2 separate regions of the Homo sapiens genome follow, and region 1 is linked to region 2. The links are contacts of gene promoters, found by promoter capture Hi-C in human tissues and cell types (Jung and others, 2019). All regions are on one chromosome and are shown on one strand. The core of a region is centred on a gene start or on the middle of the fragment in contact, and the rest is flanking DNA. Distances in the headings are between cores, read along the strand shown. Region 1 overlaps NOTCH2 (notch receptor 2). Region 2 holds the start of NOTCH2 (notch receptor 2).

What was found. Contacts are between HindIII fragments. The study calls those that stand out against the background at their distance.
Region 1: a fragment that was not itself captured here is called in contact with the fragment with the promoter of NOTCH2 in region 2 in 5 of the 25 tissues and cell types used here (adrenal gland, dorsolateral prefrontal cortex, mesenchymal stem cells and 2 more).

Annotation. Positions count from the first base shown.
Region 1 is chr1:119,950,892-119,957,727 of GRCh38, reverse strand. NOTCH2 (notch receptor 2) reads left to right here. Exons shown (of 34, transcript NM_024408.4): 13 at 2,496-2,688; 14 at 4,040-4,185. Among named protein-coding and RNA genes, the nearest start is that of ADAM30, 58 kb to the right of the region's middle. The HindIII fragment of the contact is 5,940 bases long and covers 1,135-6,836 here.
Region 2 is chr1:120,068,379-120,074,816 of GRCh38, reverse strand. It overlaps NOTCH2 (notch receptor 2), which reads left to right and starts at 5,155. Exons shown (of 34, transcript NM_024408.4): 1 at 5,155-5,483. The coding sequence starts at 5,411. LOC101929178 (a long non-coding RNA gene) reads right to left here and starts at 4,989. Exons shown (of 2, transcript XR_254374.4): 1 at 4,806-4,989. The HindIII fragment of the contact is 15,776 bases long and covers 1-6,438 here.

The DNA of each region.
Region 1 (6,836 bases), core at 2,855-5,354, 120 kb after region 2:
CATAGGCTAAAAATATTCTAAAATAAACCTAAGGTGTAGCATGAAACCTTATAAGCAAGAAATGGAATGTTTTGGTTACTAGGTGGTCCCCTGTTCATGGAACTGTTGCCTATGTCTGAGATGATTTTTTTAATCAGCTGCTAAAAACATTAGAGATGACTGTGGTATATACTCATGAGTGGTAAATGTGAGGAGTTTTATTCTTGCTCTTGTTTTATTTTAATATATTTTTCCCATATCATTCTAATAATAGCTTTGACAGCTTTAAAGGGGATTTTTTTGTTTTAATACTAAGTTATCTGTTCTCTTAGAACCTTTTTAAATGGGGGAATGTAAGGAATTATGTGATACTTCTATAAACTGCTTTTCAGTTTTACAAAGCACCTTCATGCCCATTATCTTCCTGAATTCTCATAACAATCCAGAAAGGAAGTTCTACTATACCCGTTTAACAAATAAGGCAACTGAGAGACAGACCTTGATGTATATACTCATGGCCTCTGCCAGTGAGTTGCATAGTGAGGACTGTGAGTTCCCAGAAGGCAGAGACCTCGTTTAATCATCTTTATAGCAAGTGTCTAAAGCAATGTCTGGCACGTAGGAAACGCTTAGTGAATGTTGCTGAATGAACGAATGAATGGGACTCAAATATAGCGCTTTTGCTAGCTAATGCCAGACTCTGAAGTGTGGACTATACCATGTTTTCATTTATTAAACACCAATTTATTGAGTGCCTAAGTCAGAAGAAACACTGGGTAACTTCTCATTTTAGTTACCTAGCCCAAAAAATTTCTTGGCCTTCCACTGGACTTTCCTCATGCTCAGTGGAAACTCCTTGAGGGTAGGACCTTCCTGATGGAACAGCTGTCAATCAACATAGTGGACTGCATTTAATGCTTTCAGATAAAGATGGCTTGAAAATTTATTCTGCAAAGAATAAATTTAAAAGCAAATAAAGAAAACTTGGGAGGAGTGGCTTCTGAGGAGACGCTTCCAAGAAAAGACCAAAAATGAAGAAACCTTTTTCCTGTTATCCTTCACTATATTACGGGCCGAGGCTAACTGTGTGGTTGAAGAGCTCTGGTTCATATTTTGGTGCCACTGACAAACAGCTCAAAGAATCAGTGGTTGAGGCCAAGGAAATAGTATTTAAAAATAAGCTATTAATAAAACACTTAAGAGGAAAACAGCAGCCACTTCCAGATTATGGGTTTTTACCACAAGAACCACCAATGATGGTTTAGAGAGCAATGGAGGGTGAAAAAATGTGAATACTCATACTTCATAGGAGTGGGTATCTGTTTCATTTGGAATGTCCTATTCTAAATACAGGATTGCTCTTTCTTAAATGAGAAAAATGCATGTTTTCAAAATCAGAATCAGAACATTGTGTTCTTTGAAATATATAAATTCATAGCAGTTGCTTGATGCCACTCATTTATAGAATTATAGGTAATTTTAACATTTCATATCATTTTGGAATATATAGTTAAATCTCAGTTACTCAAAATGTAACAAATGGAAACACTTGTATAACTGACCCGTATTACTTTATTCAGCCTAAGAAATATCAAGGTTATAGCAGACATCTTTTTAAAGAGCAATCTTGGCTATGTCTTGGAGGAGCAACATATTCACTTCAATTTCACTTACTCCCAGTATCCACATTGTATGATGATGATAAGTAATAATTGTCTAGAACAGAATTTCTCAAAATCTAGTTTTTACACCACCTACATTTAAAAAAATATGGTTTGCTAGATTCTATTCATCACAATCTATGGTGATAGGGCCTAGGAATCTCCACTTAAAATAACAACTTAAAGTGATGATTTTGCACATTAAAGTTTAAGAACCATAGGTCTGCAGTGACAGACTGCATTATTTTCTCTAATATCAGAAGACAACAAAATTATACTTTGAGACTCTACTTCCTGAGGTCAAAAAAAATGGATTAATAGACTCTAAGAATGAAAACAAAATAACCTTTCTTTACAATCAATTTAATTATTGAATTAAGTTACTAGCCCATTCATTAAGCATTCCAGTTAATTTGGATTTACCATAAATAGAAATGTAAGAGGCTGAGAAAATGAATTTGTGCTAAACCGGCACAAAGCATGTTAATGAATGCTTCTTTGAGTTGTACTCAGGGCAGCATTAAGAAGAGAAGCCTTCTTTGGTAACATTTGACATTCTCTTCTTAGAACCTTGTGAAGTTTCCCCATTTCTGAGTTGAAAGAAAATGCCAAATTGCTATAACACTTTTCCAGCCTTTTGTTAACTTTCCTTGATTATCAAAAGTCAATGCTCTTTGCTCCTTTGCATGGCATTAAGTGTTATTGGGTGTCTAATTCCTTACATCTTGACATTTGGTGCCTCAAGGCACCTTATGGCCTGAGCAGATGAAGGATGTCAACATAACGTGTCTTATAGTTCTGGGTCTATTTCCTAAGCATTTAGGATGTGACTAACACTGTCCCCCTTCTCCACAGGGCAGAGATGTAACATTGACATTGATGAGTGTGCCTCCAATCCCTGTCGCAAGGGTGCAACATGTATCAACGGTGTGAATGGTTTCCGCTGTATATGCCCCGAGGGACCCCATCACCCCAGCTGCTACTCACAGGTGAACGAATGCCTGAGCAATCCCTGCATCCATGGAAACTGTACTGGAGGTCTCAGTGGGTGAGTAGCTGCCCCATGTGATAGTTTCTTATTGACCTGTGTTAAGCCAGTTGGCTTGTAGTACTGGTGACAGCCTGAAGTTGTCAAATGGGGCTTTGAGCTGAAACTTTGCTGAAGATTTGGTAGTCTGCATCAAAGCCTTCTGAATTACCATTTAATCCATGGAAGCTGGCCCCTCCCTTCCATAAGTGAGGACCTAGATGGAACATAAGGAGGAATGTCTCCCTTATATGGGTCATTAGCAAGGACCTCATGGGAGGAACCCATACTCATTGTATGAATCTTTGGCAGTTATGTTTTTAGTATGTATTACTGGAATGATTTCTGAAGAATGTTCTAGCTTTTGATTTTTTTTCCCCTGCTTAAACATAGCTCAGCTCTGTTCTGTCACAGTGCCAGTGTGTGCTCTGAAGTAGGGCCGCTTCAGCCAACTTTAGAAATGTCCCTGATAAAACATTTGCAATTTTTAAGCCCCACAGACTTGTGTGATGTGTTAGTGATTTTCTAGAATCATAGAGTGACCTTAGGTCTCACGAGACGCTCTTATACTCTTGCTGCATTTGCCATAGGATATGGCTTTGGACATTTTCCTTTGCCAAACTTTGAAAGATGAAAGGATAAAGAGTGTTTAGTGGCAAATAGTAAATAAAGTTATTTAAAAATTAATTAACTCAGTATTGGTGTTTCAGAGTATAGCAGCCTTCAAGGCACCCTTATCCATCTCTCATTTTCTTAAAATTCTCCCGATAAGAAAGCTATCATTTCCTGATATCACATTCTAAGTGTTAGTGATGTTCAAATTGGAGATTATATTTACAATTCAAATACCTTCATTCCTGTGCCTTTTCCTGCAGAATACCCTAGGTGCTTTCTGAAGCCAAGTGTTAGGTCAAGACAAAGCATGACTTAGATATGAAATATCCCAGGAGCATCTTAGAGTGGCTCAGGGTCCCTGACAGTGACCTAGGTATCTATTTGGCACCAAAAACTAATGATCTTAATGTTTGCTTTACTTTAGTTTTATGTATAATAACATACATTGTGCAGATTTATCCATGATATTGTTTCCTTCAGAGTGGCCCAATATATTGTAGAAACCATTGTTTACATAAGAAATTTCATTATAATTTCACTAACTTAGTGAGCCAGGAAAGCACCAAGAAGGTTTCTTTACTGGATACACCTGATAGGGCCACATGGTACACACCATGTGCAAGGTGATGCAAGGATAGTTCCATGAAAGTAGAAATGAGATCAGTTTACCCCATTTCTTCACCAAGTCCTGTATTTCACTCTATGACTCAATCATACGTTTATACCTCCTATAGTAAAAAGTTTTGTCTTCTTTCAGATATAAGTGTCTCTGTGATGCAGGCTGGGTTGGCATCAACTGTGAAGTGGACAAAAATGAATGCCTTTCGAATCCATGCCAGAATGGAGGAACTTGTGACAATCTGGTGAATGGATACAGGTGTACTTGCAAGAAGGGCTTTAAAGGTGAAAACAAAAGTACATCTTTCTGCGTCTGCTCTTTGTCTTCTTGTTGTTGCATACTGCTTGACTCACTTCTTAGTTTCCTTTTCTCTTTTTCATTCATTCGTGTAACAAACATATTGAGCAATTAGACTTGTAAGGCACTTGGGGAATAAAAACATGAATAGATACAATTTCTACCTTCAGCCTAGCAGAGAGGTGACCTATTGAAATAGTAATTTTTTTTTTTTTTGACACAGAGTTTTGCTCTTGTTGCCCAGGCTGGAGTGCAATGGTGCGTGATCTTGGCTCACTGCAAGCTCTACCTCCCGGGTTCAAGCCATTCTCCTGCCTCAGCCTCCCTAGTAGTTGGGATTACAGGCATATGCCACCACACCCGGCTAATTTTGTATTTTTAGTAGAGACGGGGTTTCTCCATGTTGGTTAGGCTGGTCATGAACTCCTGACCTCAGGTGATCTGCCCACCTCGGCCTCTCAAAGTGCTGGGATTACAGGCGTGAGCCACCGCACCCAGCCTGAAATGGTAATATTTAAGATGAGCAGTTAAGACTCCAGTTTTACAGCATTGGCCAAGTGTCTAATTATAAGCTTCCTGGTCCAGGTTTGAGTCTATGATAGTTCAAATAGATATATGGAAGTAGAATGAAAATATTATGCTTACTATAATTAAGATAGTAGTAATATCAAGGAAGAATCCACATGTTCAGAACTCTTTCAACAAACTTTTTAACACATTGAGATATTCTTAGTTATTTAGTCATCTTTGGTCTACACCGGAGGTCCTCAACCCTCAGGCTACAGACCAGTACCTGTGTGTGGCCTGTTAGGAACCAGGCCACACAGCAGGAGGTGAGCAGCCAGTGAGGGAGCAAAGCTTCATCTGTATTTATAGCCACTCCCCGTCACTCACATTACCGCCTGAGCTCTGTCTCTGTCAGATCAGTGGTGGCCTTAGATTCTCATAGGACTGCGAACCCTATTGTGAACTCCACATGTGAAGGATGTAGATTGTGCGCTCCTTATAAGAATCTAGTGCCTGATGATCTGTCACTGTCTCCCATCACCTCCAGATGGGACTGTCTAGTGGCAGGAAAACAAGCTCAGGGCTCCCACCAATTCTACATTATAGTAAGTTGTAAAACTACTTCATTGTATATTACAGTGTAATATTATAATAATAAAAGTAAAGTGCACAATAAATGGGATGTGCTTGAATCATCATCCTAAAATCATCCCCCCAACCCCGGATCATGGAAAAATTGTCTTCCACGAAACCAATCCCTGGTGCCAAAAATGCTGAGGGACTGCTGGCCTACCCAACAAATGGATAGTCATGGGAATTGTGTAAAATCTGCTTCTGAGTTATCACTGTTATATTTCTACCATCAGTTTTCTCTTGGAAACTCACAAAAGAGAGCCGTGTGGGTAAATCATTATATTTGCACTCATCTGTCTATTTATTCATTGATTTCCTCACTCAAATATTGTGCTATGCTATTGTGATACATCAGCATGTTTTAGAGCCACTTTATTTGATTACTTGAAACATTTCTGAGACTGTATTTCAGCCATTAATTTTCTGATATATTGTATTACATTGGCAAAGAAACTTGTAGATTTCAAAACACTTTTATTTCTTTATCTTCTGAGACTTGCTTATCAGTGAACAAAATAAAATTCAAAAGGTAAAATCCCAAATTATATGCCCAGTGGGCAGCAGAATACTCCTTGAACCCATACCTCTGCATTCCTAGACCATGTTTTCTTTTCCACAGTGCCATAGTTTCTCTACTTTAAGGCTCTGTGCCAGGCCCTATTGGAGATGCAAAGGTGTGCAGTATTTGGGTACTGTGCTATCTCCACTAATTTTTTATTCCTTTTATCCTTTTCTTAGTGGGAGAAGGTTTCATGCCTTGAATCAGGAGAAAACAGCTTTGTAACTTCAGGAAGTACCACATGGGTGGTAGACATGGTGCCTATGAAAAAATGGGCATAAACCAGAGGCTTTGATTAATGTATTCAAAAACATCATCCCTTTTCCTGACCAGAAATGTTATATACAAAGAGCTTATGTTTATCATGCAACAAGCTATTGGCTGGGTGCGATGGCTCACACCTGTAATCCCAGCATTTTGGGAGGGTAAGGTGGGAGGATCACTTGGCCACAGAAATTGGAGACCAGCCTAGGCAACATAACGAGACCTCATCTCTACAAGAAATTTAAAAAATCAAGTGGGCATGATGGCATGCACCTGTGGTTCTAGCTACTCAGGAGGCTGAGGTGGGAGGATTGCTGAGCCCGAGAGGTCGAGGCTGCAGTGAGCCATGATTACACAACTGCACTCCAGCCTGAATGACAAGAGTGAGACCCCCTGTCTCAAAAATAAATAAATAATAAATAGATCCTGCAACAAGCTTTTGAACCAAGAACTTCATTATTGAGAAGTTATTTGTAGTTGGAGGGGCATTAGGCTTTCAGATCATTAGAATAGACTGTTTTTCCATTCATCTTTTCAACTAATTGCTGTCATTTACTGACTGTATTTCAGGGACATGGGGCTGAAATGAATGAACAGGTATTTCAGTGGCCTGAAGAAATGAATGCAATTTCTGATGTGTTCAGTTTTTACCCCTAAAGAGAATTGGTTAGAAAT
Region 2 (6,438 bases), core at 3,906-6,405:
TGCTCTGTCACCCGAGCTGAAATGCAGCAGTGGTAACATGGTTCACTGCAGCCTCAACCTCCTGGGATCAAGTGGTCCTCCCACCTCAGCCTCCCAAGTAGCTGGGACTAGAGACATGCATCACCATGCCCAGTTAGTTTTTTAATTTTTTGTAGAGACAGGGTCTCACTTTGTGGCCCAGGCTGGTCTTGAACTCCTGGGCTCAAGCCATCCTTCTGCCTTGGACTCCCAAAGTGTTGGGATTACAGGTGTGGGCCACTGTGTCCTTCCTTAACATCAATAAAATTGAGATAATCACATTCATAAAAGGGCAAAACTATGTCAACAAGCCCACTGTATTAGTCTGTCTTCACAGTGCTGTAAAGAACTGCCCAAGACTGGGTAATTTATAAAGGAAACAGGTTAACTGACTCACAGTTTAGCATGGCTGGGAAGGCCTCAGGAAACTTAACAATCATGGCAGAAGGCAAAGGGGAAGCAAGGTACCTTCTTCATAAGGCAGCATGAAGGAAAATTAATGCAGGAGGAACTGCCAAACACATAAAACCATCAGATCTCATGAACTCACTCATTATCAGGAGAACAGCATGGGAGAAACCGCCCCCATGATTCAATTACCTCCACCTGGTCTCTCCCTTGACACATGGGGATTACAATTCAAAATAAGATATTGGGTGGGGACACAGGCAAACTATATCGCCCATATTACAATTACTTACATTACTGATTCCCTTAATTAGAGCAGAGGTAATTAATTGGGTCTAGGCTCAGTGGAAGGGTCTGGCTGGTTCTTAATTCTCAGAGCTAGTTTGAATCTTGAGGTTAACTTCTTGCCTTCTAGAACTTGTCCTGTGTTTGGCTGAACTCTGTGAACCTTTCAGAAAGTAGGTCTTTATTGAGCACATACTCTGTGCAAGGCAAAGAACCAACTACTGTGGAGTTTACAAACATGAATAAGGGGTAAGAAATGACTCTTGTCACATGGCTTACAGTCCAGCTGTGTGGGCCACCACAGTTCATATCTTTCAGGATGGGGACTGGATGAGAGGAAAGTGGACTCAAAATTAATCCCAGTGCTCTCTACTTTCCCATATCCCTGTGCTTTATCTCTGTTGTAGTTATGTTATTTGTATGTTGGCCTGCCTCACTGCTCTGTGATCTCCAAAGAACAGGGACTGGGTTTTATTTATTTCTGCATTGCCGCAGAGCCTAGTATGTGCTTTGTAGAGAACAGGCTCTCAAAAAAATTTTAAATTAAAAGAATTTATTCACTTGTTTATGTTTCCTAGTTACAGTGGGTCAGCTTGTTCTGTGCTAACATGGAAGTGACAAGAAGCTGGTGTCCCTCTACACAGAGGTCCCCACACTAAATATCATCTTGGATGTGCTTCACATTGTTGCACAAAGGTACAGTGGAGTGAGACTGAGTAAGAGGACAGAAATAGTGGGGGGTTTGTCTCAGCTCACTAATTACTTATTTAACCTTGGGCAAGATACTTAAAGCTCTATCTCAGTTTCTTCATCTGCAAAATGGGTATAATAATGACTGGGGTGCCTATTTCCCACGATTGTTTTGAGGATCAAATGAGATAATATAATTAAAAGTGTTTTTGGAAGGTCTAAATCACTGCGCAACTGCAAGGCATTATTAAAAGAAATCTTCCTTTTAATTCCTGCTTCCACAAACATCTCATCACATATCCTTGGGTTCCTGGGTTACATGGAGAGATTCGTGGTGTAGCTCAATCTATGTGTCATAGCTATCCCACAATCTCTTCTTCAACTTCTCCAACACACCAAGACATTCTTCCAGTCTTGCATTGTTCCCCAGTTTATATAGATATATATGTTCCTCATTCAGCATTTATGTAAAACATATATTATTGAGCACTTATGTGATAGAAACCGAGGCAAAACAGAAAATAAAACAGAGTTTTATTTTGAGAGTTTTTTTTACAGCTTATCGGCTCTGAGAGGACAGACATGAGAACAAATAAGTGCCCAATTCTGCATTTATTTTGGAAGGCAGTTTTATGTGAGTTTAAATCAGTAAAGACATAGATGTATATTTTTAGTTTTGATTAAAACTAAAACAATTGGTAGCCCTTATTCATATTTTTCTATCATTAAAACTTATCTTTAAAAAATGTCTTCAGTCATATTTTTCCCTTACTTCCATTCATATTTACTCTTTACTTCTCTTGTCCTTACCAGAATGTATGCAGTAAGTTTTCATATTGTAACATATTCAACAAAAGTTATATGTGAACATAATAGCTGCTTTCTTTAAAACGGTTACTTTGAGAAACTGCATACCTATTTTTTTTTTTTTTTTTTTTTTGAGACGGAGTTTCACTCTTGTTGTCCAGGCTGGAGTACAGTGGCACGATCTTGGCTCACTGCAATCTCTGCCTCCTGGGTTCAAGTGATTCTACTGCCTCAGTCTCCTGAGTAGCTGGGATTACAGGTGCTCGCCACCATGCCCGGCTAATTTTTGGTATTTTTAGTAGAGACGGGTTTTCAACATGTTGGCCAGGCTGGTCTCAAACTCCTGACCTCAGGTGATCTGCCCACCTCAGCTTCCCAAAGTGCTGGGATTATGACATAAGCCGCCACGCCTGGCCTGCACATTTATTTTAATAATGTTGTCATAGCTACAGTCGCTTCTAGAGTTGCTCTTTGGGGATAACTATCTTATATTCTTCTGAATATATTTTAATAGTGACAAAACTTATCTTTGCAGGTGATTTTTAAAATTTGTATGCAGCCAAGTCACTATGAATTATCTTTAGTGAGTAAAGAGGAAGATCGAACTGGTAACACTGTGGGTAAACAACTGAAAAATAATGTTATCTTTCTCTGAACATACTTGCACAAGACAAATTCCAAAAATATTTTGACTACATTATTTTTGAAAAGGGTTTCCAGTATTTCAATGTGACTACTTTCACTAATGGTACTTGCTTACCTAAAGTGCTTGTTAACATGCAGTTTTGGAACTTCATAGGTCTATGCCCATACTGACTTGTACTTGCTTAGTGTTGTTTCACATTCTAGTTCAACATCTATTATGTGATAGACACTGGGGATTAATAGGCTGTGGTCTTTGCCCATGAGGACCTCAAAACTTAGTTGAGAACACAGAAATACAAAGAGTCCTGTGTGAAAAATAAGTATCGGTGTTAAGATAAAGAAGCGGCAGTGGAAGACAGTGGAGGGACTGTCTGTTAGGGGGAGGAATTTATTGCGGTGTCGGCAAAGCCTTCTTTGGACTGAAGGATGAATTATGATTAGAAGTTCATTAAGAGGAGGAGGGAAGGGGACTACAGGAGTCATTCCAAGCCAAAGGAACAAAAGATACAGGGACAGAAACAGCAAGATATGTTTGGGGGAATCTCAAGTTAGTCAATACTGTTATTGTGTGAAGTTCACAACAGGGGCAGGGAGGACAGGAGATGGGGCCCAATGACGAAAAGGCCTTGTATGTACCATGTTTAGAAGTTTGAATTTTATCCTATAGGAGTCAGGGAGAGGTTCTATGGGTAGGATTTCCCATCCCAACAGGATTGTAAACTCCCACATCCAATTAGTCACACCTCCATTTTTTTTTTCTGTTTCTTTAACATTGTCTCGGATTCATTCCTTCTGAAATCTACCTTATTAGTTCAGGTCTTCTTAAATTTGTGCCTGGACTGTTCACCAACTCTTGACTGGTCCTGGGGCTCCAGTTCACCTCTTGCTCCCCCAACAATCAATTTTCTACAGAATTATCAGAGCAATCTTCCTTTCCATCAATCTCAACTCTGTTCAAAAACTTTCAATAGTTTTATGTGACCTAAGAGGTAGCTGCCTCCCCACCCTTTCAGCTTGCCATTCAAGGCTGCATAATTTGGTCCCAACCCCCTTTCCGTCCTTGACTCCTCTCACTGCTAACAGAGACAGAACTCATTTACTTACTCTTTTGACTGTACCTTTGCTTTCACGAGGGCTCTTTCCTGGAATGATATGTCCATACAACTATTGTTGCTGTTCTTACTTTTAGCTCTTTTCTTAGAAGCCCACTTGTACCCAGGTTTGATCACACCCCCTACTCTCCTGCCCTGGAAGTAACTACTATTCTGGTTATAGTCTCTTAATATCTATATCTATATATATGCATCCACAGATAATGTGTAGTATTGTCTTGAAAAAAATATACATAAATGGTATACTTTGTCTCCCTCTGTGATTAGTTTTTTCACTATCATTTAGTTTTTAAGATTTATCCCTATTGACATAAATAGCTATAGTCTTTTCAATTACTGTGTTGCATTTCATTTTATAAATATACCATACATTATTCATCCATTCCTCTAAGGGTGGGCATTTATGTTGTTTTCAAGGTTTTGCTATTACAGTGTTACAACGAATATCCTTAGCTTAGCTGGTCTCCTTGTCTTATACAAATTTTACTGACCTTTCAAGATCCTGCTTTCATCCCAGCTCCTCTGGGAAAGCCTTCCCTGAATCCCCCAGCCCACAGCGGCAAAGTCTTGGTACTCAAAGTTGCTTGTGCATCTTTGGTATCATCCCACTGCCAAGCACACAGCTACGCAAAGTAAGGCACTTAAGAAATATTCGCTACACGGATGAACAAATGAATGAATGAATGGGGCAGCACCACTCCGTGATGGCTCTATTCCTTTTTAATGGACTTTGGCGCCTTGGCCCACTTTCCTTCTTTGACAGCACTGGTCCTACTCCAGAGCATTCCTCTAGCTAGCAAAGCAGTGTGTGGATGTGTGGGTGTAGGTGGCGATACAGACCTCACTGGATGAGGACCGCCTCTCCCTGCAAGTTCACGATCCCGGCAAACTCCAGTGCTTGAAGTTCAGAGTCCTACCCCACCCCCCTCACCCCCACGCCCCTTCTGCACTGGTCAAGCCAGCGAGCCGCTGCAGCCCTGATCGAGTTAAGGCGCGGCGGCCCCCGGGGCCGCTGGAGAAGGATGCGGACGGGGCCAGTGACTCGTAGTAGATCCCTCCGCGCGGAGCTCGGGCCGGCGCTTCTTCCTGCGGGAAACCCCTGGGTGCCCAAGGCGGCGGGGCCGAGGCCGCGGCGACAGTGGGGCGGGGCTTGCGGTGGGAGGAGGCGGCTGAGGCGGAAGGACACACGAGGCTGCTTCGTTGCACACCCGAGAAAGTTTCAGCCAAACTTCGGGCGGCGGCTGAGGCGGCGGCCGAGGAGCGGCGGACTCGGGGCGCGGGGAGTCGAGGCATTTGCGCCTGGGCTTCGGAGCGTAGCGCCAGGGCCTGAGCCTTTGAAGCAGGAGGAGGGGAGGAGAGAGTGGGGCTCCTCTATCGGGACCCCCTCCCCATGTGGATCTGCCCAGGCGGCGGCGGCGGCGGCGGAGGAGGAGGCGACCGAGAAGATGCCCGCCCTGCGCCCCGCTCTGCTGTGGGCGCTGCTGGCGCTCTGGCTGTGCTGCGCGGCCCCCGCGCATGGTGAGTATCGGGCTGAGGGGCGCTGTCCGCGGCGCCCGGGGCTGCCACCTGGGGCGACCCTTCTCCCCCTCGGTCCTTCTCTGTGTGGGAAGGCCAGGCTCGGCCGCCGGCGCGGAGCGAGGCCACTCGCTGGGTTCCCAAGAGTTTGGACATCGCCGGGGGCCCCTCCCGTGGTGCCCCGCCAACCGCCGGGGTTCCCCGCCGCCTCTGCTCCCCGCGGCCCGGGACCCCTTACACGCCTCCTCGGCAGGAGGGAGGCCGGCAGCAAGTCTCAGAAACTCCTTTTTCGTAGTGCCAGGGTGCAGGGAGGTGGGCAGTTTTGCCCTTCAGGTTCCGCGTTTCTTGGGGTCGAGCGAGAGCCGACGGCGGGCCTCGGAGGGGCTGAGCGAAGGAATGCCAGATTCTGGCGTGGAGAGCGGGGGCAGGGCCGCCAAGCCAAACGGCCTGCACCGTCGCAGCCAGCCTCGCCTTTGCCAGGGGGCGGCACATGGGCCGGGTGTGTGGGCTTGGTTTGGATGGGGACGGGGTTTTGCGGCGCGCCTGAGTTTTGACACTCCAACCCCACCGAAAGTCCGGGGGAGCCGTGTGTGCTGCTCGCGTCTTTGAAAGGTGGAGGCAGGAGAAGTAGGGCAACTGGTGTGGCTGCATGCTGAGGCACATGATTTAAAAATCTCAACTGCTGTTATTCTTTCCGAGGCGCGGAGCTCTGCTGCTGTTTCAGGCTGTGTCCAGACCCAGGAATGTGGTGTGACGATCACCAATTCCTCCAACCTGGCAGCAGCATTTGCTGCTCCTTTGGCATGGCTGGGGGTGGGGCACGGGCGGGTGAGAAAAAGTGGATACGTTAATTCAAAGGGCTTCCTTAGAAAGCTTCTTTATGGTTGGATGTTTCTAACACGGTTGGACCAAGGAAAGGGAATCAAATCATATCTTCCCCATCCCACCCACACTTTTA